Linked DNA regions of Homo sapiens: region 2 is linked to region 1. The links are contacts of gene promoters, found by promoter capture Hi-C in blood cells and fetal thymus (Javierre and others, 2016). All regions are on one chromosome and are shown on one strand. The core of a region is centred on a gene start or on the middle of the fragment in contact, and the rest is flanking DNA. Distances in the headings are between cores, read along the strand shown. Region 1 holds the start of EBPL (EBP like). Region 2 overlaps CDADC1 (cytidine and dCMP deaminase domain containing 1).

Region 1 (7,559 bases), core at 3,669-6,168:
AAACAGGGTTGTAAAACAATCAAATGTGTTAATTGCCCAAATCTCAACACCCTATGGCAGTGTTTTTCAAACACTTGTAGTTGAAAATCTTTAAGTTATCTAGGGAAAACTGGAGTTGTACTAGAAAATCATAGCATAGTTTGAAGATCACTTGAAGCATTGTTGAGAGATTGGCCTCATCAGAAAACTTACAATCATCTATTAAATTATTAAAAACAGAAACTATGGCCGAGCCATGCCATAAAGAAAGTATTCTCTGCAGGGAATTTCTTCTACAGCATCCCCCTTCCCTACCCTAGCAAATTGCCATACACCTTCTTGAGGAATTCCCTTAAACTGTGGTACCCAAAGATGCATGGGGCCTTGTGCCAAATAGTGTGAGAAACCATAAGATAAGGAACACTTTCGTGGGACAGCAACTTTACTAGGTGGTAAGTAAAAGTTTTATTGGTAATACAAGCCAAAGTGTTATAAAGTATACATTTTACATATTTTAAACATAAAATCTGATTTTTGAGGCAGGGTATTTTATGGAAACATTCCTGCAGGAGTAAGTTAGAAGAGCTTGAGAAACAAGGTACTCATTTTGAGGGAGCTTGTATTTATTGGCTAGCTTTGCTTGCTACAAGATCCTTTCTTAACCTGGGTGCAGTGGCCCACACCTGTAATGCCAGCACTTTGGGAGGCCCAGGTCAGTGGATCACTTGAGCCCAGGAGTTTGACACCAGCCTGGGCAATATAGTGAGACCTCATCTCTACAAAAAAAATAAATAAATAAAATAGCTGGGCCTGGCGGTACATGCCTGTAGTCCCAGCTACTTTGGAGGCTGAGGCTGCCATACACTGGACCCGAGATCGTGCCACTGCACTTCAGCCTGGGCCACAGAGTTGAGACCCTGTCTCAAAAGAGAAAGAAACTTAAATTTCCATCATTGTAAATTAACTGTTTTTGATTGGGAGTAGACTTTGTTATTTCCAGATAGCAGAGGAGACTCATCCATTTTTTAAATCAGCTTTCTTTTACTCGAACACCCCTTGCATTTCATCCATTCTCATTATAAAGTCATTGCTGGACCTGGTTCCTGTCAGCGTGATGTACTCCAAGGATTCCAACAATAAGGAGTGTGGTGTGACTGGTTTCTGAGTACTTTGGAATGAATGGGAACATTCCATTATCTGGACTTTTGATTCTATTAATGTGGGGGGAGTCTTTCAGTTATTTTACCAGCTTCATCATAATTAGGTTTGTGATCAAGTCACACCCTCTTTATCATCAGCTCTCTTTAACCCAAATCGTTGGGCATCTACCCTTTTCAACTCTAAACATAAGAATAAATTTCATATTTACTTCAGCCTAGTTTTTCTCATGAGATCACATTCTACATATGTATCCTTTCGATGTCTTCAGTCTTATATAAATAAGAATTCTGACTAAGCCTTTAGAAACATTCGAATACTGAATACTCTGTCCCGTGCCAGGTACTGTGCTATGGCACAGGATACTTGTAAAAATAACAGGAATAAAAAAAAAGACAAGTTTTGACAAATGTTAGAAAAAAAGAGGTATACAATGATACACATACTAGAGGAAATTGGCTACTGAGAAAGGTGATAACCAGGCTAATGTTGAGCCCTTAAAAAGTGCCAGCCAAAATTTCACTGATCGTGGTGAAAAGGCAGGAGTTTATTGGGCACATTGACTGGAAAAGCTTTCCAGCAGTGGGAAGAGTCTGTACAAAGCCTTGTGGGAAGCACCATGGGGTATTTGAGGAAGTGAAAGAAAGCAAGTATAGCTAGATGAAAGATTATAATGGAGAGGAGGATTAATAGGGGAATGGGAAAGGGCTAAAGAGATAGGGAGGGGCCAGACCCCACAGTCTAGTAAGTCATAAAAAGGATTTTGGTATTCTATATGAAGATCATCATTAAGCAAGAGGGATAATAGATTAATAAAGATCACTAGTTGGTAAGGCTAAGGACAGAAAACGTCCTTTGGATTTAGTGATGTAGAGGTCGCTGGTCACATTAGTGAGTGAAGCACAGACGAGATGGTGAACAGGTCCATGAAATGCATGGAATCAAGAAATACTTGGCTGCTGAGGAGGAGTTGGTGATGCCTTAGATGCCAAGTTTGGGGAGAGAGAAGTATCGGGGATGATTTCTAGGTTTCCGGGTTGTAGTAACTGATGAGTGGAAGTAACATGAGATAGGAAGGAGAATCAGACATTGGGGTGGAAAGTGATGAGCTCAGTTTGGGTTATATTGAGACATCCAAGTGACTGTCAAGTAGGGCAGTTGGAAATACTGGTCTGGAGTCCAGAGAATAGGACCAGGCTAGAGATTTGAGTTCTCTGCAGGTTTTGCTGGTCATTAAAGCAGAGGGTAAGGATGAGACTGCCTGGATTTGGGGTCTGGAGTGAGAACAGGGCCGAGGACTGGGTTGTGGAGCTGCAGCATTCACTAGGCATTTGTAGTGGAAGATGCACTTGCAAAGGAAACAGAATGGCTAAGGAGGCTGTATTCTCAGAAAACCAAAGGAAAAATATTTCAGTGCTGGGATGCTGCTGAGAAGTAAACTACACTAAGAAAATGAACTGTTCTTGGGGTTCAGTGATGTGGAGGCCAGTAGTCACCTTAGTGAGAGCTATATCAGTGTGATAAGGCAGAAACCAGAGTAGAAAGGACTGAGGAGCAGGGTCAAGACATGAAGACAGGGGATCTGATCAGTTTTTTCATTAAGTTTCTATTTTGCTCTGAAGGGGAGGTGGGCCGAGTGGTCCCTAAAGGATGATAAGTTAGTTACAGGACAGGATCCAGAGCATAGGTGGCTAGATTGACCATACTCAGTCGCCAGTTATTTAACTGAGCAGCTAATATATGCCAAACTCTGTAATAGGTGCCAGGGATACAGCAATAAAAAAGCTAGCCACAACCCCTGGCCTTGAAGACTTACATTATAGTGGCAGGAGATTAGCAATAAGTGTGTAAACAAGGATCATTCTATCTGGTGTTAACTGCTATAAAAAATGGTATAGGAAGTGACTAAGGGAAAAATTTCTTGTGTTCAGTGCCAGCATTTTTTTTAATAACTGTAAAATACACATAAAATTTGCCATCTTAACCATTTTTAAGTGTGCAGCTCAGTAAAGTATGTTCACGTTGTTGTGCAACCAATCTCCAGAACATCATCTTGCAAATCAAACTATCCGAATAAATAACACTCCACTTTTCCCCGCGCCCCCCCCCCACTCCCGCCCCGCCCCACCCCTGGTAACCATCATTCTATTTTGTTTCTGCAAATTGATTATTTTAGATATTTCCTGTAAGTGGAATCATAAGTATGTTTTTGTGACTGGCTTATTTCACCGACCTCATAGGGTTGTTGTGATGTTAAATAATGTAGGTTTGTTCCCGGACCAAACTGGGGGTTGGGCAGCCCAATAATGAGGTGCAGATGAACTGGGGAAGAAGAGTTTTTATTTCTGCAACCGGTTACAGGGAGAAGGTCTGGAAATTATTGCCAGACCAACTCATAATTACAAAGTTTTTCCAGAGCGTATATACCTTCTAAGCTATATGTCTACGTGTAAGAGTGCATTCATCTAAAGACGTAAGTGATTAACAACTTCTAATCCTGAAGACCTTCCTCTGGAGCCTCAGTAAATTTACTTAATCTAAATAGGTCTGGGTGCTGGGATGATTACCCTTATTTTGTCTCTTGCTAAATCATGGAGGCTTGTGGAATTCCTCCAGACTCCCAATAAACTTGTTTTTGGAGGCCTGGGGAGTTTCTTCAGACCCCCAATAAAACTTGTTTAATCCTAAACGGGTCCTGTTAAAAATTCCTTAGTTATCTTGTCATGCTTCAAGGCCCAAGAAAGGCCTAGGCAAAACTCTTGGTGGGCTTTTGTTACATTCCAGACTTTGGTATATGGGCACTGACTCTTTCAGCTTTTAATTTTTTTTTTGTTTTTTGAGACGGAGTCTCGCTCTGTTGCCCAGGCTGGAGTGCAGTGGCGCGATCTCGGCTCACTGCAAGCTCCGCCTCCCGGGTTCACGCCATTCTCCTGCCTCAGCCTCCGGAGTAGCTGGGACTACAGGCGCCCGTCACCACGCCCGGCTAATTTTTTGTATTTTTAGTAGAGACGTGGTTTCGCCGTGTTAGCCAGGATGGTCTCGATTTCCTGACCTCGTGATCCGCCCGCCTTGGCAAAAAGTGCTGGGATTACAGGCGTGAGCCACCGCGCCCGGCCTCAGCTTTTAATATTTAATTTAACCACTCAGTGCTGAAGCAGTTGTGATGGAGGCCTGCGATAGTGAAACCTGGCCTGCCACAGGTTAAACGCATCTATCGCCAAGCCAATAGGACTTACCGCTCCTCTCACCCACCCTTCTACTTTTCTGGATTTTTAAGAAATGGAAAGATTGTCAGAGTAGGCCATAAAGGCTTTAAGCCGGCTGGTGGCTGAAAACTCCCTTGGCCCCCAGCCTCCCTGGTAAGGCTTGCTGCAGCCTAATTAAAACCTTTTGCCCCTAAAATTCTGCCCCGGTCTACTGGCAAAATTTCCACTACCTAGGCTTCACTTTGTGGCTTAAAGTTTGAGCCTTGTTAAAAGCGAAACAACATCAAAAGGTGTGGCCCTATTACCAATCCTTTGGGCTCGGTTTGGGAACAGGTTTGGTCGAGGCGGTTGCGCAAGTTGGTGAGCACGTTCCTTCTACGGAACCTCCATGGGCGGCACCTGGCAAAACCACCGGACTCAGCAGGCTGGCCAGGGTGCGAGGCGGGCACGGAATCCTCGCTCTGGCCCCGACCCGGCCGGGGAGCCCCGTCCCTCCCCGGACCGCCTTGGCCAATCAGCTCCGCTCCTCCTTGGCCATCCGGCTCCGCCCCTTCCCGGCCAGCCCCGCCCCGTCGTTTCTCTCCCTGCTTTCCTCTGCCGCATGGTCCTGGGCCGTTGGCGTCGGAAGCCTGAAGCATGGGCGCTGAGTGGGAGCTGGGGGCCGAGGCTGGCGGTTCGCTGCTGCTGTGCGCCGCGCTGCTGGCGGCGGGCTGCGCCCTGGGCCTGCGCCTGGGCCGCGGGCAGGGGGCGGCGGACCGCGGGGCGCTCATCTGGCTCTGCTACGACGCGCTGGTGCACTTCGCGCTGGTAAGTGCCATCGCCTAGACCCTGCACTCCCCATCCCAGAGAGTGGGAGCGGGGGCGGCAAGGCGGGGTGAGGGGGTCCTGCGGCTTTTTGCAGCGAGCTGGCCGCCCCTCCCCCTGCTGCAGGAAGTCTGTTAGCTGAGAGGCGCCTGGAGGCCGCGGCGGCCGGAGTTCTGATTCCCAGGTCTGTGAACAGAGCGCAGCTTACCTTGTGCTGCCGATTCCTCCACCAAACTTTAAAAAAATTCTGTACGTGCTATGTTAGTTTAGAAGATACCTCAGCTTCCTCGGCTTTGTAACCTGCACGTAACTGTTGAACTGGACATAATTGAGAGTAGAATTGAGGTCATTTTTAAATGCCCCAGAGGGGGCAAGGAGAGATGCTTGCTCCGGAGGCAGCAAGGCTATTGTCGCAAAACCCGAAGCCTTTGCCAAGACAAACGAAACACCCGTGTCTAATGTGTGCCAGGCGCATTACTGAGTTTAAAATTTCAGATCTTTACAGCATCCATAAATTAGTTATTATTGTTCCCCATTTTACAGAGGTGAAGGTAGGCGCTGCAAAATTAGGTGACTTTCCAGTGCCACACAGCTGGCATGATTCTGAGGCAGTCTAGTCTGGCTCCCAAGTTTGCACTCTGTGTATCAGTCGAGGTCTTAGGAAATATGTGTCCTTAGAGATTCAACCCATTTTATAAAATAGCCAGGAAGGTTGTGTTTAAGGCATTTATATTGAAATGCCCCGCCCCCCACCACACACGCGCACGCACACACACACACACACTTTTAAGTTTTTTTTAAACTATGCCCAAGTATCAGTTTGTTTTTTTTTTTTTTTGTAAAGTTGACCTTGTTTAACTCTAGACACACCTGTGGCTAATGTGAAGCCAAAGTCAGTAGTATTGAGAAAGCAAGCCGAGTTTTGGGTAATCATCGAGTTCTGTAAATGTTTACGGGTTGGCTTTGTGCCCATGACTGATGTTGCTGGAATTCTTTTTATTCTGATAATCAACATGTAGAGATAAGGGACAGTGAATGTTTCTCTCAACTCCTTTATTTATAGAATTCTTTTTTTTTTTTTTTGTCTTTTTTTTTGTTGTTGTTCTTGAGACAGAGTCTAACACTGTTGCCCAGGCTGGAGTGTAGTGGCACTATCTCGGCTCACTGCAACCTCCGCCCCTTGGGTTAAAGCTATTCTCCTGCCTCAGCCTCCCGAGTAGCTGGGATTACGGGCGCCCGTCACCACGCCCAGCTAATTTTTGTGTTTTTAGTAGAGATGAGGTTTCACTATGTTGGCCAGACTGGTCTCAAACCCCTAACATCAGATGATCTGCCCACCTTGGCCTCCCAAAGTGCTGGGATGACAGGCGTGAGCCACCGCCACCGCCACCAGCCGAGAATTGATTTTTAAGCTATCACTTGAACACAAGGTTTCCCACAGAACAAGGGAGATAAAGCAGATTGCTAGGCCCGGTTAGAAAAAATGTATAACAAAATGTATAACATAACAAAAATGTTGCTAGGCCCAGTGAGAGAAAACTGTGTAACATATTGGCTGGGTATAACTGTATATAGCATATCAGAATGTATATATATAAAAATGTATAACATATCGGACACAGTGGCTCATGCCTGTAATCCCAGCATTTTGGGAGGCTGAGGCGGGTGGATCACGAGGTCAGGAGTTCAAGACCAGCCTGGCCAACATGGTGAAACCCCGTCTGTACTAAATATACAAAAATTAGCCAGGTGTGGTGACGGTGCCCATAATCTCAGCTACCCGGGTGGCTGAGGCAGGAGAATTGCTTGAACCTGGAAGGTGGAGGTTGTAGTGAGCCATGATCAAGCCACTGCACTCCAGCCTGGGCAACAGAGCAAGACTCTATCTTGGGAAAAAAAAGAAAAATGTTTAACATACCTTAGACAAACAAAAAGCTGTAAAAATACTTAAACTATATGCGTGTGTTCACCACTTGGTTTAAGACTGTTTACTTTTCAAGCTCAGGTTGTTACAGGTAACACGACACACACCTCCTTTTGTGCCATTACCTACCCCAGCTGCAAAGTAGTCCACTGTGTGAATACACCATACCTTAGTTCTCCAAGTCTAAGACCCACATTTTTTCACATATTAGAAGAATCAACTACATCATGTAACTACTGTAGGCCATTTGATTGATATTTTAATGTCTCTAAATTGGGATGTATCTTATATTTGATGAATACGATCACTTAACCAGCCCATATTAGTGGACACATTTTTCTGTCATTACAAACAATGCATCTACCAACGTCTTTGTACATGTGTCTCAGAGATCAGTGGGGAGAGCACTTGAATTAAGCAGTTGAGGCTGCAAGAAAATACATGCCCATGTTGTCTTTGCTTGGGAGTTTATTGCAAGAATACCCAGA
Region 2 (7,559 bases), core at 1,951-4,450, 400 kb after region 1:
CCTAGAAATAAATTAGCTTCCTTAAAAAATCTTTTCAATTATTCACAAAATCCATCCTTATTTTCTGAATGAACAAGGCTGAATTTTAGAAGTGCAATGAAAAGTTCTTGAGGTTCCCCTGCAGTGTAGACAGGCCTTCTTAGTGGATTCCGAGGCGCAGCTTCTTGTCCTGGTGCTGCTCTTCCTTCTGTGGGACAGGTCTCAACACACCATCTAGCATTGAGAATAACGCTAGGTCAGGACAGCTTCATTTCAAACCCATGGGCACTTGTTTCAGCCTTACATGTTGTAAGAGCAAAACAATGCTTAAGTTAAAGGAACTTTCACTTTATTTTATCTTCAAATTCTCAATTGTAGAGAATCCAATCTAGATAACTTACTCTCAGGCAATACAGAATCTGGCTTTTAAAAACTGGATTCACATTGGCCGGGTGCAATGGCTCACGTCTGTAATTTTAACACTTTTGGAGGCTGAGGAGGGAGGATAACTTGATCCCAAGAGTTCAAGACCAGCTTGGGCAGCATAGGGAGACCCCATCTCTACAAAAAAAATTTTTTTTTTTTAAACAGGTGTTGTGGCGCACACCTGTAATCCCAGCTACTCAGGAGCCTGAGGTGGGAGGACTGTTTGAGCCCAGAGAGGCCAAGTCTGCAGTGAGCCATGACTGTGCCACTGCATTCCAGCCTGGGTGACACAGCGAGACCCTGTCTCAAAAAAAAAAAAAACCAAAAACTGAATTCACTCAACAGTGTACGGCAAGTAATTCATAAAACTTTTTGTTTTATGTTTTTGGTGGGGGGACGTCCTATTACTAGACTGGAAGAAATAAAATGTACCTCCTAAGGGAGAAGGGGACTGTGTGTGGGGTAGGGAGAATCTGGGGACTGGAAGGAAGACGGACTTATCTGACTGGGCAGGCTGGGAAAAGAGTATGGCTTCAACCTCTTCCTGGCTTTTGTGTTTAATAGCTTTATTTGTACAATAAATGATACATGTTTAAAGTATGCAATAAACTAAACATAAAGTGTATAGCTTGATGAATTTTTTTAATTTACTTTTTGATTTGTAATATTTGTAGAGATGGGGTTCTCAGTCTGTTACCCAAACTGGTCTTGAACTCTTGGCCTCAAGCAATCCTCCCACCTCAGCCTCCCAAAATGATGGGATCACAGGAAGGAGCCATTTTGCTTAGTCCAGTTTCATGATTTCTGACATAAGTACACATTCATGAAACTATCCCCACAGTCAAGACAATGAACATATCTATCACCTGCAAAAGCTTCTTTCTGCCCCTTTCTTCCCATCTTTTGAGGGATTTCCTGCCCTGAGCCTGTATGTTCTGCCCTGCTGTTTCCTTGTCCTAAGGACACCTGGGCCAGGGCTCAGACTTGCCTTCCAGAGGTAGATCTGGAAAGCCACCCCTCTCTCTTTCTTGTTCTCATCATATCATGTAATATTTGAAACATTCTCTCTCTCTATATATAATGTATTATGTAATATATAATAATACATACATAATACAGATGGGAGTTCTAAAGCCTAACAATAAAATGAACACTCATGAACTTACTGCCCCAAAAGAGTTACAGTTTGTTTAAAACTGAATAAAACTACATTATGTGTGTTGGGGGGAGATGGAAAAAAAACAAAACATACTGCCGAATCCAACAACTAGAACATTATCAATTCCCGTGCGCTCCCTCTCTCGTCCCATCCCCTTTCACCCCACTCAGAGGCAACTCCTATCTTGATTTTTGTGTTTATCAATCGATTGCTTCTTAACAATAACTTTACTGTATATACTATATATTAAAGTATATTTTATTTATTTATTTATATATTTTTTGAGACAGGGTCTGTCTCAGTCTGTTACCCAGGCTGGAGTGCAGTGGTGTGATCTCAGCTCACTGCATCCTCAACCTCCTGGGCTCAGGTGATCCTCCTATGTCAGCCTCTGCGGTAGCTGGGACTACAGGCACAGGCCACCATGCCAAACTAATTTTTTGTATCTTTTGTAGAGATGGAGTTTTGCTGTGATGCCCAGGCTGGTCTTGAACTCCTGGGCTCAAGCAATTGGCCCGCTTCAGTCTCCCAATATGCTGGGATTATAGGTGTGAGCACCATGCCTGGCCTACCACATTTAACCAATATATGGTATGTCTTTTTGAACTTTATACAGAAATGGTATCATAATTCTGTAGTTTGCTTTGTTAAATTCAACATTTATATTTCTAAGATTCATCCATGTTGAAGAATGTAGCTCTAGTTCATTTGTTTTCACTGCTATATGGTAGTCCATTGTGGGAATACACCATAATATTTTTATCTAACCACCCAAAACAAACATTTGTGTTATTTCCAGTTTTTGCTTTTAAAAACAATATAGCAACAAATTCTTTGTCTCTCTGACTCTTATACAATATGCAAGAGTTTCTCTAGGGCATACGCTTATAAAAAATGCTATTTCAGGCCAGGCGTGGTGGCTCATGCCGGTAATCCCAGCACTTTCGGAGGCCAAGGCGGGCAGATCACCTGAGGTCCAGAGTTTGAGACTAGCCTAGCCAACGTGGTGAAACCTCGTCTCTACTAAAAATACAAAATTAGCTGGGCATGGTGGTGCATGCCTGTAATCCCAGATACTTGGGAGGCTAAGGCAGGAGAATCTCTTGAACCTGGGAGGTGGAGGTTGCAGTGAGCCAGGATCACGCCACTGCACTCCAGACTGGGCGACAGAGTGAGACTCCGTCATAAAAAAAAAAAAAAAAAAAAAAAAAAGCAAAAAAAAAGCTACTTCCGTGCAATGTTAATTTGCATTTCTCTGACTACTAATAAGTTTAATCATCTTTTCATGTGTTGATTGGGTGAACTAAGTTCAGTTCACTCACCTTGCAGCAGACCCAGACCTGATCTCAGATCCCAGCTTATATGGACATTTGTCCCCAGGATAGCTCTGGCTATTGTGTTCGCTTACTATTGCTCCTCAGATTCTAGCAAAATGCCTTCTTATCTCTATTTTGTTCTTAGGAGAATATTTCTCTTATTTTCTTGAAAGCTCCATGACTCTTTAAAAAGAATGCTTGTTATGGGTTACCTGGGTTCCATTTGCATGGAGTGGAAGGGCACTTGAGAGTTGTCAGTCACACTGCCTGCCTTCCTTCTCTGTTTGTCCCTGCTACTGGCACTGAGAGAGTATCCAGCAGCAAGTCCCCCTCTGAGTTAGACAGACTGATTTACCCAAAAGTCAAGCCCCAGTCTAACAACAAAGCTGGTGTTGTAACTTTCATCTGTTGATTCTGGTGTCTATTTCTCAACTGAATCAAAAATTGGAAAGGAATTACATACTGTATGATTCCATTTATATGAAATGGCCAGAATAGACTAATCCATAAAAACTGAAAGAGTGGTTGCCTAGGGCTAGGGGGAGTGAAGAATGGGGAGTGACTGCAAATAGGCATGAGACTTCTTTCTCAGATAATGAAAATGTTCTGAAATTATGTTGTAGTGATGCCTGTACAACTTCGTGAATCTACTAAAGAAGCAAATTTATGATAGATGAATTACATATCAGTAAAACTATCATATAATTAAAAAGGAAATGGGGTATTGCTTACTGAGATCAAACACTTGTTCAAAAATGCATAAACATAAACTTAACTGTTCAGTTGAACTGTCACAAAGCAAACATATGTAACCATCATCTGGGTCAATAAATAAAACATTGCCAGCAAACCAGAAGCCTTCCTTTTGTCCCCTCCTTCCAATCTTGGGGCTTTAACCACAGCATGTCTTCCTTTTCCTTAGTAATCTAGGAATAATAAATCCTAGATACAAGCCCTTTGTTGATTATAAGTGGCAAGTATCTTCTCATATTCCATGGCTTGCCTTTGCACTCTTGTAGTGATATCTTTTTTTTTTTTTTTTTTAAGGCAGGGTCTCACTCTGTTGCCAAGGTTGGAGTAGAGTGGTACAAGCATGGATCACTGCAGCCTCAACCTCTTCATGCTTAAGAGATCCTTCCACCTCAGCCTCCTGAGTAGCTGGGACCACAGGCATGTGCCACCACAATTGGCTAATTTTTGTATTTTTTGTAGAGAGAGGGTTTTGCCATGTTGCCTAGCCTGGTTTCAAACTCCTGGGCTCAAGCAATTCACCCACCTCAGCCTTCCAAAGCACTGGGATTACAGGTGTGAGCCACTGCACCTGGCCTAGTAATATATTTTAATGAACAGATATTCTTCATTGTAGCATAGATAAATTAACCTTTTTATGATTCGTGCTTTTTGTATCCTTTCCCTAACATAGGAAATTATTCATTGGCCCCTTCAAACACTGTCATTGAGTGTACATTATTTAATCAGATGTATAGATAGACAGAGAGACAGACCGATAGATAGATAGATAGATAGATAGATAGATAGATAGATAGATACAGCCTTTTTTGCTAATAAATTTTTAAAAAGAAAGATGCAGTGGATATGTACTTTTTTCCAAATTGCAAACAATACATTTTCTATTTGAATCAAATAAAGCTAATTCAGAACACTGAAAATCAATATATTCACAGAAAAATTATTCTAAGACCTTTATACTTCTTGATTTTTCAAGGTTAAAAAATTGTTATTATCAAGAAAACTTACAGAAAACTTCCATTTACTTCAAATCCAAATAATTCGATAATATAGTTACTGTTTTATTTTTATTTTTAGAGACAGAGTTTTGCCCTGTCGCCCAGGCTGGAGTGCAGTGGCGCTATCTCGGCTCACTGCAAACTCCACCTCCTGGATTCAAGTGATTCTCCTGCCTCAAACTCCCAAGTAGCTGGGATTACAGGCATGTGCCATGATACCTGGCTATTTTTTGTATTTTTAGTGGAGACGAGGTTTCACCATGTTGGCCAAGCTGATCTCGAACTCCTGATTTCAAGTGATCCCCCTGCCTTGGCCTCCCAAAGTGCTGGGATTATAGGCGTGAGTGACCACACCTGGCCTATAGTTACTATTTTAGAATAATATTATATAGCACTCATATCTAAAATTATGTGCCTAAAGAATTGTAAGACTTCTCAAAGATTATATTACATTCAAAATATCTGTAGTAGTATACGAATAATAAAGCTTTAAAGACTAGTAATTCATTATGGTAGCTGTGATGATTCTTAGTTAATCAGATTATTCAAGTTACCAGAACATTTCCAATCTGGGCAAATGTGGGTTTACTCTAGAAGAATGTATATATCCTCATCATTTGGTCCCAATCCATCTGTACTAATTATACATATTTTTCCTTTCTCACTCCCCAATAAGCTTTTGTTTTGTTATAGAAGAGCATTGCTGTTTACTGTTTCATATGCATTTAATTTATAAAGTCAATTTGTGCATAATTATTTGTATTAACCTGTAGATTCTATAGGAGTAATTATTAATCGGCACTTTCCATAGCACCTAGCATATGGTAGACCCACAAATATTTATGAACAAATTGAATGGCAAAAATCTAACCTTCAAAAATAATATGCTCCATCTATTAACACAATTTTCATCACCTGATCATTAAAATTCACTGTATATCCTTTCTCCTCAGCAACAAAGTTCACCTCAATACATAAATACTTACTTTCTCTCCTTTCAGGCTCATTTTGTTCAAGACCATAAGCTCCTGATGGATTCAGCTGCCACTGTAAGAGTGCACAAACATTTTACTTGTTTAAAGAGGATTTAATACATAGCATTCCAGCACATTGATTTTAAATATCAAAACAACTTCTTAAAAATGGAAGAAAAATGGCTGGGCATAGTGGGTCACACCTGTAATCCCAGCACTTTGGGAGGCCAAGGTAGGTGGATTACCTGAGTTAAGGAGTTTGAGACCAACCTGGCCAACATGGTGAAACTCCGTCTTTAATAAAAATACAAAAATTAGCTGGGCGTGGTGGCACGCGCCTGTAGTCCTAGCTACTTGGGAGGCTGAGGTAAGAGAATTGCTTGAACCTGGGAGGTGGAGGTTGCAGTGAGCTGAGATGGTGCCACTGCACTTCAGCCTGGGTGACAGAGCAAGCCTCCATCTTGAAAAAAAAAAAAAATTAAAAAAATAGAAGAAAAAGAAGTTAGCATGTTCAAATTAACAAAGCCCTAATAACGCCACACTGAGTGATCCTGAATGATATAACTTCTGGGATCCGAATCAATACTCTTAGAGAAGTTGAAGATTCTTTACATTCATTTTAATTGGAAGTAAGTGGAAGACCAGAGGATTGGAGTGACTTGTCTCAGGTTACACCCTAACTACAGGAGGCAATAGAATTAGAACCCATGCCCAGTACTATGGAATTAACATCGCATTGTATTCTATCTCCAGGTCCTAGAGAATCTTATAATAGCTAGAAAAGGCCTAGGTATTAAAGAATGAAAATATGACCAAGATAGGCCATGCACAGTGGCTCACGCCTGTAATCCCAGCACTTTGGGAGGCTGAGGTGGGTGGATCACGAGGTCAGATAGAGACCATCCTGGCTAACAAGGTGAAACCCCGTCTCTACTAAAAATACAAAAAATTAGCTGGGCGTGGTGGCCGGTGCCTGTAGTCCCAGCTACTCGAGAGGCTGAGGCAGGAGAATGGCGAGAACCCGGGAGGTGGAGCTTGCAGTGAGCCGAGATTGCACCACTGCACTCCAGCCTGGAAGACAGAGCAAGACTCTGTCTCACAAAAAAAAAAAAGAAAAAAGAAAAAAAAAAGAAAAGAAAAAGAAAATATGACCAAGATTACCTTGCCTTTTAATGTTGTTATATCATAAACTATTACCTGCATCATATCATTTTATATCATATCATATATCTCCTCTGATTACTGTATTTCATCTCAACCATTCAGGAATAAATAGGGAAGCCTGAAGATTCACAGATATTACATAGAATATTGGGGCAGGAGAAAATAAAAATGGAGAGTAATCGGTATCTTATAGCACAGCCCTTCTTTTCTCAGCTGGATAGAATCTCTATCAGAATCACTAATGACTTAACCAAAAGGCCCTGCTAGGGCACCATCTCAGGACACAAATATGGATTACCCGGGAGCCTCTTCCATAAGCATCAGTTCACTCATCAGATTAACTAGTTAACATCACGAGCCTTGAGGGGGGATGAGATACAGGACAAACATTTTACCATGTATTAAAAGTCCCTGGAAAGGGAGGACATCTAGAAATGGTTGGTTATTTAAACGAATGGGATGGTTTAGGCTAGCACCAAGAAAGAGAGAAGACTTAGAAAGGGTAGGAAGCTACATGAGAAATTACCAAAAAAATGTTTAAAATTAGGCATTTTTTGAAAGACGTCAAACCACTAAAACCTATTAATTTGGGCAGACAAAGTAAAAACAAGTAATCCTGAATTTATGTTTAAGGACATTCATAAAAAGGCTTCTTATAACTGTAAAAACTTAGAAACAATCCAGGTGTCCAACAACATGGGAATGGTTAAATAAGTTAGGCCTATGGGTTGGAATATTGTGTTAAATTATTTAAAATATTTTTTAAAGAACTTTTAGTGGCAGAAAATACAGC

The links. Contacts are between HindIII fragments. The CHiCAGO score rates a contact against its expected background, and 5 or more counts as called.
Region 2: a contact is called between a fragment that was not itself captured here and the fragment with the promoter of EBPL in region 1, in 1 of 17 cell types (neutrophils). The highest score is 5.2, in neutrophils.

What each region holds. Positions count from the first base shown.
Region 1 is chr13:49,688,845-49,696,403 of GRCh38, reverse strand. It overlaps EBPL (EBP like), which reads left to right and starts at 4,918. Exons shown (of 4, transcript NM_032565.5): 1 at 4,918-5,150. The coding sequence starts at 4,980. RefSeq lists silencers at 4,793-4,992, 5,023-5,162 and an enhancer at 4,626-5,623. The HindIII fragment of the contact is 12,052 bases long and covers 1,712-7,559 here.
Region 2 is chr13:49,284,338-49,291,896 of GRCh38, reverse strand. CDADC1 (cytidine and dCMP deaminase domain containing 1) reads right to left here. Exons shown (of 10, transcript NM_030911.4): 9 at 5,615-5,675; 10 at 1-213. The coding sequence ends at 140. Among named protein-coding and RNA genes, the nearest start is that of CDADC1, 40 kb to the right of the region's middle. The HindIII fragment of the contact is 3,835 bases long and covers 1,283-5,117 here.